4 separate regions of the Homo sapiens genome follow, and regions 2, 3 and 4 are each linked to region 1. The links are contacts of gene promoters, found by promoter capture Hi-C in human tissues and cell types (Jung and others, 2019). All regions are on one chromosome and are shown on one strand. Each heading gives the region's core, a stretch centred on a gene start or on the middle of the fragment in contact. The rest is flanking DNA. Distances are from core to core; before and after follow the strand shown.

Evidence for each region. The method cuts DNA at HindIII sites, captures the fragments that hold promoters and counts their contacts. A contact is called where the count stands out against the background at its distance.
Region 2: a contact is called between a fragment that was not itself captured here and the fragment with the promoter of ZNF551 in region 1, in 1 of the 25 tissues and cell types used here (liver).
Region 3: a contact is called between a fragment that was not itself captured here and the fragment with the promoter of ZNF551 in region 1, in 1 of the 25 tissues and cell types used here (dorsolateral prefrontal cortex).
Region 4: a contact is called between the fragment with the promoter of ZNF264 here and the fragment with the promoter of ZNF551 in region 1, in 1 of the 25 tissues and cell types used here (liver).

What each region holds. Positions count from the first base shown.
Region 1 is chr19:57,680,590-57,683,289 of GRCh38, reverse strand. It overlaps ZNF551 (zinc finger protein 551), which reads right to left and starts at 1,313. Exons shown (of 3, transcript NM_138347.5): 1 at 1,046-1,313. The coding sequence starts at 1,126. RefSeq lists a silencer at 873-942 and an enhancer at 998-1,621. The HindIII fragment of the contact is 9,267 bases long and covers 1-2,700 here.
Region 2 is chr19:57,414,906-57,417,605 of GRCh38, reverse strand. All of the region lies in intron 2 of ZNF17 (zinc finger protein 17), which reads right to left. Among named protein-coding and RNA genes, the nearest start is that of ZNF17, 5.1 kb to the right of the region's middle. The HindIII fragment of the contact is 5,457 bases long and covers 1-2,700 here.
Region 3 is chr19:57,368,493-57,371,287 of GRCh38, reverse strand. ZNF547 (zinc finger protein 547) reads right to left here. Exons shown (of 4, transcript NM_173631.4): 2 at 2,709-2,744. The coding sequence starts at 2,732. Among named protein-coding and RNA genes, the nearest start is that of ZNF547, 6.3 kb to the right of the region's middle. The HindIII fragment of the contact is 8,803 bases long and covers 1-2,795 here.
Region 4 is chr19:57,190,156-57,192,855 of GRCh38, reverse strand. ZNF264 (zinc finger protein 264) reads right to left here and starts at 1,356. Exons shown (of 4, transcript NM_003417.5): 1 at 910-1,356. The coding sequence starts at 942. RefSeq lists a silencer at 841-1,110 and enhancers at 1,281-1,340, 1,351-1,440, 1,461-1,520. The HindIII fragment of the contact is 13,408 bases long and covers 1-2,700 here.

The DNA.
Region 1 (2,700 bases), core at 64-2,563:
GAATCCAGAATCCAACTGCTTCTCGCATCTTCACAGCCACCATTTTGGCCTATCACATTCTATCACATTCACCTGGCCTATCCCAGTAGTCTCCTCCCAGGTCTCCCCACCTCATCCTTCAGTTGGCTTCCCATGCTGCAGCCACAGGGAGCCTAATAAGACCAGAACCAGATCACCTCCCTCTTCCACTCCAAACCTCCCACTGTTACTATTAAGTAACGAATAGACAACTCAACTTCTCAGGGAACCATTCCGGGTCTGACTTCTACTACACTGCTCCCTGTTCTCATGAAAAGAAAATAATTGTAGGTTCCTGAACTATCTTAGCCTCCTCTCCAAACTTAGCATATACTGGTAACTTTGCCTTGGACAACCTTCTACATCTCCTTTCCCCCGGCTGCCAACAGCTTCATATAATCTAACCTGGACTTAAGACTCTGGGCTTTGTATTTGCTCAAAGTCTCAGGGCCCAAGGCTAGACGAGTGGCGAGGCTCAGGTCGCCCAATGACCCTGGTCCAGTTTTGGAGCCAGGTGGCCTGGGCTGGCTGCACTATCTCCGCACCTCAGTTCTCAGTGCTGACTTTACCAGCTGCGTGAGCTTGGACAAGAACTCAGTCTTCCTATGCCTAACTACTATTACCTCTCTTCAGCCTGTTCTTCCCCTGAGCAACTTTTGGATAGCTTTAGGAAATCCTAGCCCAGTGTCCCTATCTGTTCACAAATCTCGAAGGCTGCCAGTGTCCTCAGAATCGTCAAATTCGTCAGGTGCAACTCTGCCTCACTCTATGTTCCTGCAGACCCGAGACGGACCCCAGGCTCCTGAATCCCCCCCAGCTTAGTCGCAGCTCCAAGTTCTGCACGCGCCAGTCAACTGCCCGTCACATTTCCGTACACACTGGGCGTCACAAACGGGTCCAATCCACAAGCGCCTTCTTGTCCAGGGTACTGGGGCCTGGGCTGCAGGGCTGTGAGCAGGCATCCCTCACTGGGCCTTAAGGCTTCTGCTGGGGGAGGTAGGCGAGACCCGGAGGACGCACAACTCACCTGAGCCGAGTCCCTCAGCGCGACTGCCGCCATTGAGCTCCGTGGACTAGGCGGGGAGCGGCGGCCGACCGGGGCGGGCATTCGAACACAACAGTCCCTATCCCGGGCCTGGCGCAGCTCACCCGAGGTGGTGTCGCAGAACCTCTGGCCCACTTTCGCGACTTCTCTGTCCCGTCCCTCAGTCGCGACCTCCACTGCAGAAACTGGCGGGCTGGACAAACAGGACAGAGGCCAAAATGACCGCCACGAGGAGGACGCCGGAAGTTCCGGCCCGTCGCGCTGCGCGTGCGCGGAAGTGTTGCTATCCTGGGCTGTCATTGGCTCAACTCCGCCGCCGTTTTGCGCTCTGCACTCTGGATAATGTAGTTTCCAAAACTCCACGGAGCTCTTCGGAGTGTGTCCACTGCTTTGACCTCTGCGAACTTGTATTCTGAGGTGCTGTGCCCCGTGCAGGGAAATGGCGACTTCGGCCTCTAGGGGAGAAGGAGGTATTTACTCCTTCTTAAAGGGGCTTTTCCCAGATTTCTGGGAAGTGTTTTCCGTAACTGATCACTTAAGTGTTTAGAGACATTATTTCAGACTCCACGAAGCTCAGGGTGCCCCTAGAGGCAAACAAATATTATTTCAGGGGGTTGGGCGCGGTGGCTCACGCCTGTAATCCCAGCACTTTAGAAGGCCGAGGCGGGCGGATCACCTGAGGTCAGAAGTTCGAGACCAGGCTGGCCAACATGGCGGAACCCCATCTCTACTAAAAATACAAAAATTAGTCGGGCGGGCCGGGCGCAGTGGTTCACGCCTGTAATCCCAGCACTTTGGGAGGCCAAGGTGGGTGGATCACGCGATCAGGAGTTCGAGACCAGCCTGGCCAACATGGTGAAACCCTGTCTCTACTAAAAATACAAAAATTAGCCGGGCATGGTGGCGAGCGCCTGTAATCCCAGTACTTGGGAGGCTGAGGCAGGAGAATCGTTTGAACCTGGGAGGCAGAGGTTGCAGTGAGTCGAGATCACGCCATTGCACTCCAGCCTGGGCGACAGGGGGAGACTCCGTCTCCAAAAAAAAAAAAAGAAAAAAAAAATTTGGATTTTGGAGCATTTTGGATTTTAGATTTTTGGCTCAGGGATATTCAACCTGTATTTTGTTCTCATTAAATAGGTTCCTCTTTCACTTTGTTATTGTTTGATATACTAAAGTTTTAATTTTCATGAAGTCTAATTGGTCTATTTTTCTTTTGTCACATGTGTATTTGGTGTCAAATCCAAGAAATTATGGCCAAATTCAATGTCATAAAACTTTCACCCTATATTTTCTTTTAAGTGTTTTATAGTTTTGGGTCTTATGTTTAGGTTTTTAGTCCATTTTGAGTTCATTTGTGTTTTTGGTGTTAGGTAAGGGTTCACCTTCATTCCTTAGCATGTGAATATTTCATTTTCCCAGCATCATTTGCTGAAAAGATCATCGTTTCCCCATTGAGTGGTCTTGGTAGCCTTGTTGAGATCATTTGACCATATACATTACTATTGCAAATGATATTGTTTTCTTAATTTCCTTTTCAGATTTTTCATTGTTAGTGTATGGAAGGGCATATGAGTTTTACATGTTGACTTTTGCATGTTGACTTTGAATTCAGCTACACAGGTGAATTTGTTTATCAG
Region 2 (2,700 bases), core at 64-2,563, 270 kb after region 1:
AATTGCTGGGATTACAGGCATGAGCCACCACGCCCGGCCCATGAGCAACTTCTTATTCTGTTTCCTTAGATCTGTATTTATCTACTTGAAATCTAAGAATTAGAGGACCAAAATAACAACCAGCATTTTAACATTTCTCTTATAATCCAGATCCCATAGACTGAACTGCCTCCTATCTAACAATCACACATGATTCTTTCTCCTGCCCTAAATCAACACAAGGCTTGTACCACAAAAGGAGGGATAGTCCCTATACCCCAAGGCTGCCAAAATCATGCAAACTACCCAGTCTTAAGCTCTTCACTCTCCCCTGCATGCCTTTCCAGCCAAAACCCCAATAAAGCCACTGATATATGCTCTCCCTTCAACTGTGCATCTGCCACCTGACCAAATCCGCTATTTCCTCTGTGGCTTTATGTGATGTGGCATGCTCCCTGCACTCAGGAAATGAAAGGAATAAAAATCATTTCATCCAGGTATGATTTCTCACCAATTGAAAAAAAAAATTATTTCAATGTCATTGGCTTTTCTGTAATCACTCACTCTTGTTCACAGATTGAAATCCTGTGGGTACAATCACTGATACACTTCCCTCTCCAGGACCTTCAGTGCTCCTCACCACACCCACACACATCCACACCCTGCTAGCCTCCACCCACTTCTGAAGGAGGAAGAGACACTAGGTCTTCATGGCACCTGTACCTGCTCTCCCCTCATTGCCACTGATCACTGACTCCAGTATAGAACAAAGATGGGTGGGGGAAAGAGACTGAAAAGCGCCATCAAAACCTGGCACATGGCCGGGCATGGTGGCTCATGCCTCTAATCCCAGCACTTTGGGAGGCTGAGGCAGGTAGATCACAAGGTTAGGAGTTCAAGACCTGCCTGGCCAAGATAGTAAAACCCCATCTCTACTAAAAATACAAAAATTAGCCGGGCATGGTGGCAGGCACCTGTAATCCCAGCTACTCGGGAGGCTGAGGCAGAGTACTGCTTGAACCTGGGAGGCAGAGGTTGCAGTGAGCCGAGATCGCGCCACTGCACTCCATCCTGGGCAACAGAGCTAGACTCCATCTCAAAAAACAAAACAAAACAAAAAAAACACCTGGCACATGGGGGCCTACCTTTCTTTTGTCACTCAATTTCCCTAGAGTCACCCAGATCTTGCCTCTCAGATAACCAAACTTGGACTCACCCTCCTCCCTTAAGTGCCCAGTGCCAGAGGTGGAACCATCTATTCATGCTCCTCCACTCAGGCTTTGGATGGCACCTCCCTCATGTATCCAACACCTCCACTCTTGGCAACACTAACAACCACCACAGCCCAACTGGGAGTATTTCCATGGCGTGTTACCATGCCACTCTGCACATGAAATCCTGCAGTGCATGACAAATGCAACCAGAATCGTATTTGCCCCTAGAATGACCAGAATGCAATGTTTAGGAAACATTGCTTTGAACGTCTCCCAACCCAATCCTGTTTCTTTCTTTGACCTCAGCTTTCCAAACCCACATATTCTTGCACACCTCCTTTGAGTTCCAGATCTTGGCTGTCTCCCCCTTCTACATGTATATGTTGTCCCATAAGCAGTCACGACTTTCTCTATCCCCCAACTCTAATCCAAAGCCCAGATACACTGACCTCCCCAACACCATCCCCACCCCAGGACTAGCAATGCTTCTAGATGATCCCATCTTCTGCCAAAATAGTCTCAGAGTTCGCGTGAAACTACCCAGGTACAACCAATATTTGCCACAAAACCCTGTTGAGTCCATAATAGGGTACTAAGCCCCTCCCAGACCTCACTATCATCTCACCTCTTTTGTGGAGATGCCTCACCATCCAACTTTTATGTGCACTCTCCCCCTCAAAAGCCTTTATTTTCCAAAGGCCATCTCCAACATAAACACACAAATACACACACACATATCCTCAGTCCATCCACTCCCTCATCTGTCTTTGTGATGCCCAGCAACCCCATCCAGGTGCCCAACAGAAAGATCCAGTCCTCAGCCCCTTCCTTCCCCTTCCTTCTCCCTAACAGCATTGCCTCCAGAATCTAAAGATGTCTATTCCTAAATCTGACCCACAGATTTACCATGGTGTACACGCTGGCTATCATATAGTAGATGTCTCCATCCTGAACACCTCCATTGAACTCCATTCCTGTGTGTTCAACTGCCAGTCTGGCACCTCTACTCGAGTCTCTGGAACATTTTTGACTTAGCCCAAACCTCGTTCTTCATATGCTCTATTAAACTCCCCCTACTACAAAATTTACCACATCTTAGTTGCTGGAACATCCAACCTTCTCAACAAGGCCAAAACAATGGGGCCATTCCTGACTCCCTCTTGCATCCTACCTCCCGAGCTTCCTCGCTCTGTACATCAAAAAATGTGAGCAGCTCTAGATCAAAACCTACAGAAGCCACCCACCCCTCCCACCTCCACAGCCGCCACTCGTGTCCAGCCACCACCAACCTCCACTGGACTGTGGCAGGAATTATCACCCAGGTATCCTTGGTTCTTCCCTAACTCTCACTCTGTCCTCCATTCTGCAGGCAGAGGAAGCCTCTTAGAATCTAGGTCAAATCTGGCTGGGTGCAGTGGCTCAGGCCTGTAATTCCAGCACTTTGGGAGGCTGAGGCGGGCAGATCATGAGGTCAGGAGATCGAGACCATCCTAACACGGTGAAACCC
Region 3 (2,795 bases), core at 296-2,795, 310 kb after region 1:
TCACTCACTCACATCCATAAATTAAAACTCCATGGGGGCCAGGCACAGTGGCTCATGCCTATAATCCCAGCACTTTGGGAGGCTGAGGCGGGCAGATCACCTGAGGTCAGGAGTTCAAGACCAGCCTGGCCAACACAGTGAAATCCCATCTCTACTAAAAATACAAAAATTAGGTGGGCATGGCGGCACATGCCTGTAGTCCTAGCTACTTGGGAGATTGAGGCAGAACTGCTTGAATCCAGGAGGTGCAGGTTGCAGTGAGCCAAGATCATGCCACTGCACTCCAGCCTGGGTGACAACACAGCAAGACTCCATCTAAAAAAAAAAAAACAAAAAACCCCAATGGGTACAATCACTGCTACTTTTCTCTCTCCAGGAACTCATCCCTCTCCCCTACACCTCCTTTCCTTCCTCAATCTCTACACCCTCCCAATGTGGAAGAGAAACCACATCCAGGTGGCATGAGTGACTTTTCTCTCCATATTGACATTGGCCACCGTGTCCAGCACACAGAGGAAACAGATGGAAGATAAGGTAGAAAAGGAATGTGGGCCTCCCGTGGGGGGATCCATCCTCTCCTGCCAGCCAGTTTCCATGGAGTCACCCAGATCTTGCCTCCCAAGACAACCAAACTCAGACTCATCCTCCTCCCTTGAGCTACCAGGGCCAGGGCCTGAGGCCCTCCATTCACACTCCTCCTGCCTGCACATCACTCTTTGGACAGCACTCCAATCCCATCTCTCACACCTCCACTCCAGTCAATTCCACAGACACCTCCCAGCCCACACCACAGGCATTTCCTTCACCTCCTAACAGGCCACTCTGCACACAGAAACCAGGTGGTGCACGGCAAATACGCTCAGCATCCAATTCACTCCCAGTCCTGCCCCAGAACACCAAAGTTCCCTAGCACCGGGGGCAGCCCTAAGCCCTGGGTTGAAGGTTCCCTACATGGCCCTGTTTCTCACTTCACTGTCAGGTGCCCAAACCATGTGAGGACTTCACATACTCTCAGCTGTGTCCTGCCTCATGGACACAGGATTGTAAGTTTCCTGAGGCCTCCGAGTTATGCTTCCTGTTAAGCCTGAAGAACTATGGGCTGGGTGCGGTGGCTCACGCCTGTAATCCCAACACTTTGGGAGGCTGAGGAGGATGGATCACGAGGTCAGGAGATCAAGACCATCCTGGCCAACATGGTGAAAGCCCATCTCTACTAAAAATACAAAAATTAGCTGGGCGTAGTGGGGTGAGTCTGTCGTCCCAGCTATTCAGGAGGCTGAGGCAGAAGAATCGCTTGAACCTGGCAGGGAGAGATTGCAGTGAGCCGAGATTGTGCCACTGCACTCCAGCCTGGGCCACATCTCAAAAAAAAAAAAAAAAAAAAAAAAGAACTGTGAGTCAATTAAACTTCTTTTCTTCATAAAGTACCCAGTCTCAGGTAGTTCTTTGTAGCAATATGAAAACAGACTAATAGAATTCCCATCCTCATCTCATTCCAACTGATGCTTAGCAACTCTCCGACCTCACCCTATTACCCTCCTCAGCAACCCCATCATGTCCACTCTCCTTCAGAAGTCTTTCTCACTCCTATACCCCACCATCTCACATACACTCATCCCCACAAACACTCCATTCCCTCATTTGTCTAGTGACTCCTCCACCACTGCACAGCTACCCAGTAAGAGACCCAGTTCTCATGCCCCATTCCAATTCTCTGTCTTCGAACAGCACTGCCACCATAACCTAGAGATGCTGTCACCTAAACTGAATCCATGGCTTCATCCTGGTCCATACGACAGCCACCATAGTGTGGACGTCTCCAACCTGAACTCCTCCACCAGGAGTCTCTGAGACATCTGTGGCTTGAACAAACACTGACTCCTCACACTCACTCTGAAAATTCCTAATACTGCTGACTTCTCCCATCTTAGCTGATGGAGCATCTATGCTTCCAAACAAAAACCATGGGGCCACTCCTGATTCCCCTTCTATCCCACCCCCCCAGCTGCCTCACTCTCTACATCATAAAATGTGGGCAGCTCCAGTTCAAAACACATCCTGAAGCCACCGCTACTCTTGACAAGTCACCACCAACATCCACCTAGACTGCTGCAGGAACATCCTCTCAGATCTCCCTGCCATTACCCTCACCTCCACAGTCTGTCCTCCACTCAGACGCCAAAGAAAGTTCCTTAAGCTAGGGTCCTATCACTGCCCTCTTCTGCTTCAAATCTTCCCCATCTACCACCTCCCTTAGATTAGAGACCCAGGACCTAGGCTGTCATTCCAGGCCTGATGTTTGTGTGTCTCTAGCCACCTCCCACTCTGCTCCCTATTCCTATCCGATATAACAGACACTTGCAGTTCCCTAAAAATCCAGTTCAGTCTCTCCTCTAAACACTGAAACATTCTTAATCTTGTGCCCATGACACTCTGACAGATGTTACCACGTCAACTGTCAAAAATGGGAGCCACTCCACATAATCCAGGGCCATCCAGGTAAGGTGTCACAGTAAACTTAAAACAATCAAACAAAAATCCCAGACCTAATTTAAGATACTAGAACTGGTGGAATCACTCACTTTTCAGACATAAGAGAGGGAGAAAGACAGAAAGAGAGTCTCTGGACACCACTTTTCTTTACATGGAGGTGCCAAAACCATCTATGAGATAACTGGTAGGTGAAAGGTAGAAAACACTCCACTCACCTGTGCAGGGTTCATTTCTGCCATCGCCAGGGGACCCTGAAGGAAGAGGGAAACCGTGAGAAATGGGCAACGATGGGAAGATCTTAC
Region 4 (2,700 bases), core at 107-2,606, 490 kb after region 1:
GCAGGCTGGGGCAGGAGAATTGCTTGAACCTGGGAGGCAGAGACTGCAGTGAGCTGAGAGTGCACCACTGTACTCCAGCCTGGGCGACAGAGTGAGACCCTGTCTCAAAACAAAAAAAAGTATGTGAACACGGGCACAAAAAGCTCAGCATTCCTCACTGACCCCACAGAGCGGCACTGGAAGGGCTGCATCTACTTGGGGAACGACAGGCTCCAGACCAGCTTCCCATGCCCTCTGGGATCTCCCTGGGTCTCCCAGATCCCCCAAGGAAATTCCACAATGAACCAACCATCGGCCTCTTTCCTTACTGGGTTCCGACAGAACTTGTCTCTGACGCCAGGATACTTTGGGGCCACGGAACACGAGCGGCCAAGGATAATGCAGGCTGTAGCGATGAGAGTAAGGGCATCTGACTGGCCACAATGTCTGCAGTAGTTGCGGATGGCTAGAACATCCAGGAAAAGACCACACACTGTTGCCCTCCACGTCTCAGCGGCCGCAGGAAAACCATGGCAACCTTACACACCCTCCTGAGCCTCCTTAAACATACAACATACCTTGTCTCTGCTCGCGCATTTGTCGGCTTGCTACTGCCCTGCCCTCCCCTTCCCCCCTCAGGCCCCCAATTCATGCTGGAATGAGACCTGGTCCACCAGAGAATGCTTGCAGGCCAAGGATGATGGGAGTCCCCAGAGGAAGCATCATTCACTCAACAACCTACGGAGCTCCTTCCAGTAGGCCCAACACTCCTTACGGCCAGGTATAAATTAAGTGGCAAACCAGCTCCACACACCAAAGCGAACGACGACTGCGAAGACAAATCCAGGGGATACCTGGGCTCCCACCCACTTCGGAAACCGCCTCAGCGCTGGCAAGGAAGCGGCAACCGCGAAGCCACCGTCCACTCACCTGGGCCCGGTCCGTCAGCACCGCTGCCGCCATCACGTCACCCCCTGGGCCGCAGAGCTGGGACAGAGGAGCCCCGGGCGGCCTGACGGACCCCACCTGTGCCCGACCCTGGCCGGTTGCCCGGGGCTTCCAGGCGCGCTCGGGGCCGCCGCCTCCTCGGTGGCAACGGCGTTCCAGACGCAGGGCCGCCGCCTCCTCGGTGGCAACCGCGTTCCAGACCCAGGGCGCCGCCCCTGGAGACCGCGGGGCTGAAGGGCGGGGGAGGAGAGACCGCAGCTTGACGGCGACCCAGGAACAAACCCACGGAAGGGGTCAGGCTCGTACAAAGGTGCGGCGGGGATTCCTATCCTACTCCCCTGCTCGGTCCTGACTAGGGACCTGCAAAGCGGCCCCGACCGGGGCCCTCAGTGGCTACAGACCTCTCCAGACAGAAGTGCAGAAGAAAATGGCGTCCGCAGCGAGCAACCCGGAAGTCCCGCCCCCACCGGCGTGAGCCGTCGGAAACGTCCCCGTCCTAGGCCGTCGTTGGCCCAGCTCCCGCCGTACGCATAATGCACAGCCTTCTAAGTAGTGTAGTTTTCCTCATGTGTTCAACAACGGGAGGAACGCTTCACGGCGCAAGTTTTCCTCCCAGGGAAAGGCACTCCAGGACCCGAGGAGACGCTCCAGACCCACCTCTTTACGGTGGGCACAACTCGAGGGGAAGGATGGAGGGAGGGAACCGAGGGGCAAGGGTTACATTGCATTCTTCTCTCGGGAAAATCGGAGCTCGGGAGACAGGGACTTTCCTTCAGGTCAGGGCACAGGCAAAGGCGCAGAACTGGGTCCTCAGCTCGCCTGGCGACTGACCCCCTTTCACATCCCTCCTCCCCGGATCATCATCTTGGAAGACACAAAAAAGCCGAATGATCATCTGGAAGCCCTGCCCCGACACGTTGTGTGCGCAAACTGCCCTCTTTTGAGCCTTCTTTGGACCAGCACAGCCTCTACGTGATGCAGGGAGTCATGTATTTGGCCCAGACCACACAAAAAGTGGATTTGCCCACTTCTGAGGTGGGGAGGCTGCAAGTGGAGGAGGTTCGGAGGCTCAGGATGGTTAGTTTGAAATGTCTACAGAACCACAAAGTATCTCTGTCACAGGCAATTCGACTTACGACTGAATGTTGGAAGAAGGTTTGAGCATGAATATATGAATTTAGGAGTTACCTTACACTGTTATTTCAAGTCATGATATTGAGTGAGACCATCAAGGCAATGCATGTAGATGGAGAAGAAAATACACAGAGCATGAGCCGGGGACCAAGTCTACATCATTAAATGGTTGATGACAATATTACCAGAAAGGCCAGGTCCTTGCATCTAGATCCTGCTGCTTGCTGCACAGAAGGCCAGTCAGCAAGACAATGAGTATTGTCAGGGATGAAGGCTTTATTCGGTGCTGCAGCTGAGGAAAATGGGAGATCAATCTCAAATCTCTTTCCTCAACTGACTAAAACTAGGGGTTTATACATCAGGGAAGAAGTGTAACTATGTTTGAGAAAACAGGAATTAGGAAGGGGTAAGGAAGAGGAATGGGTCAACAGGCAGCAGATGGTCAGTTAGGCAATCATCATGGGTAAGGGGTATAGCATCTCGTTTTTCCAGATGTGGTAATCCAGTAAGTTTCAGTTTCTTTATACTATCTGGGAGGCCTGATGCTTGGTTTCCTGAGAAAGGAAATCAGATAAGACAAATAAAAGTGTCTCGAGTTTTAGGAAGGGGAGGCTCAATGTCTATAATGTGTTGATTCAA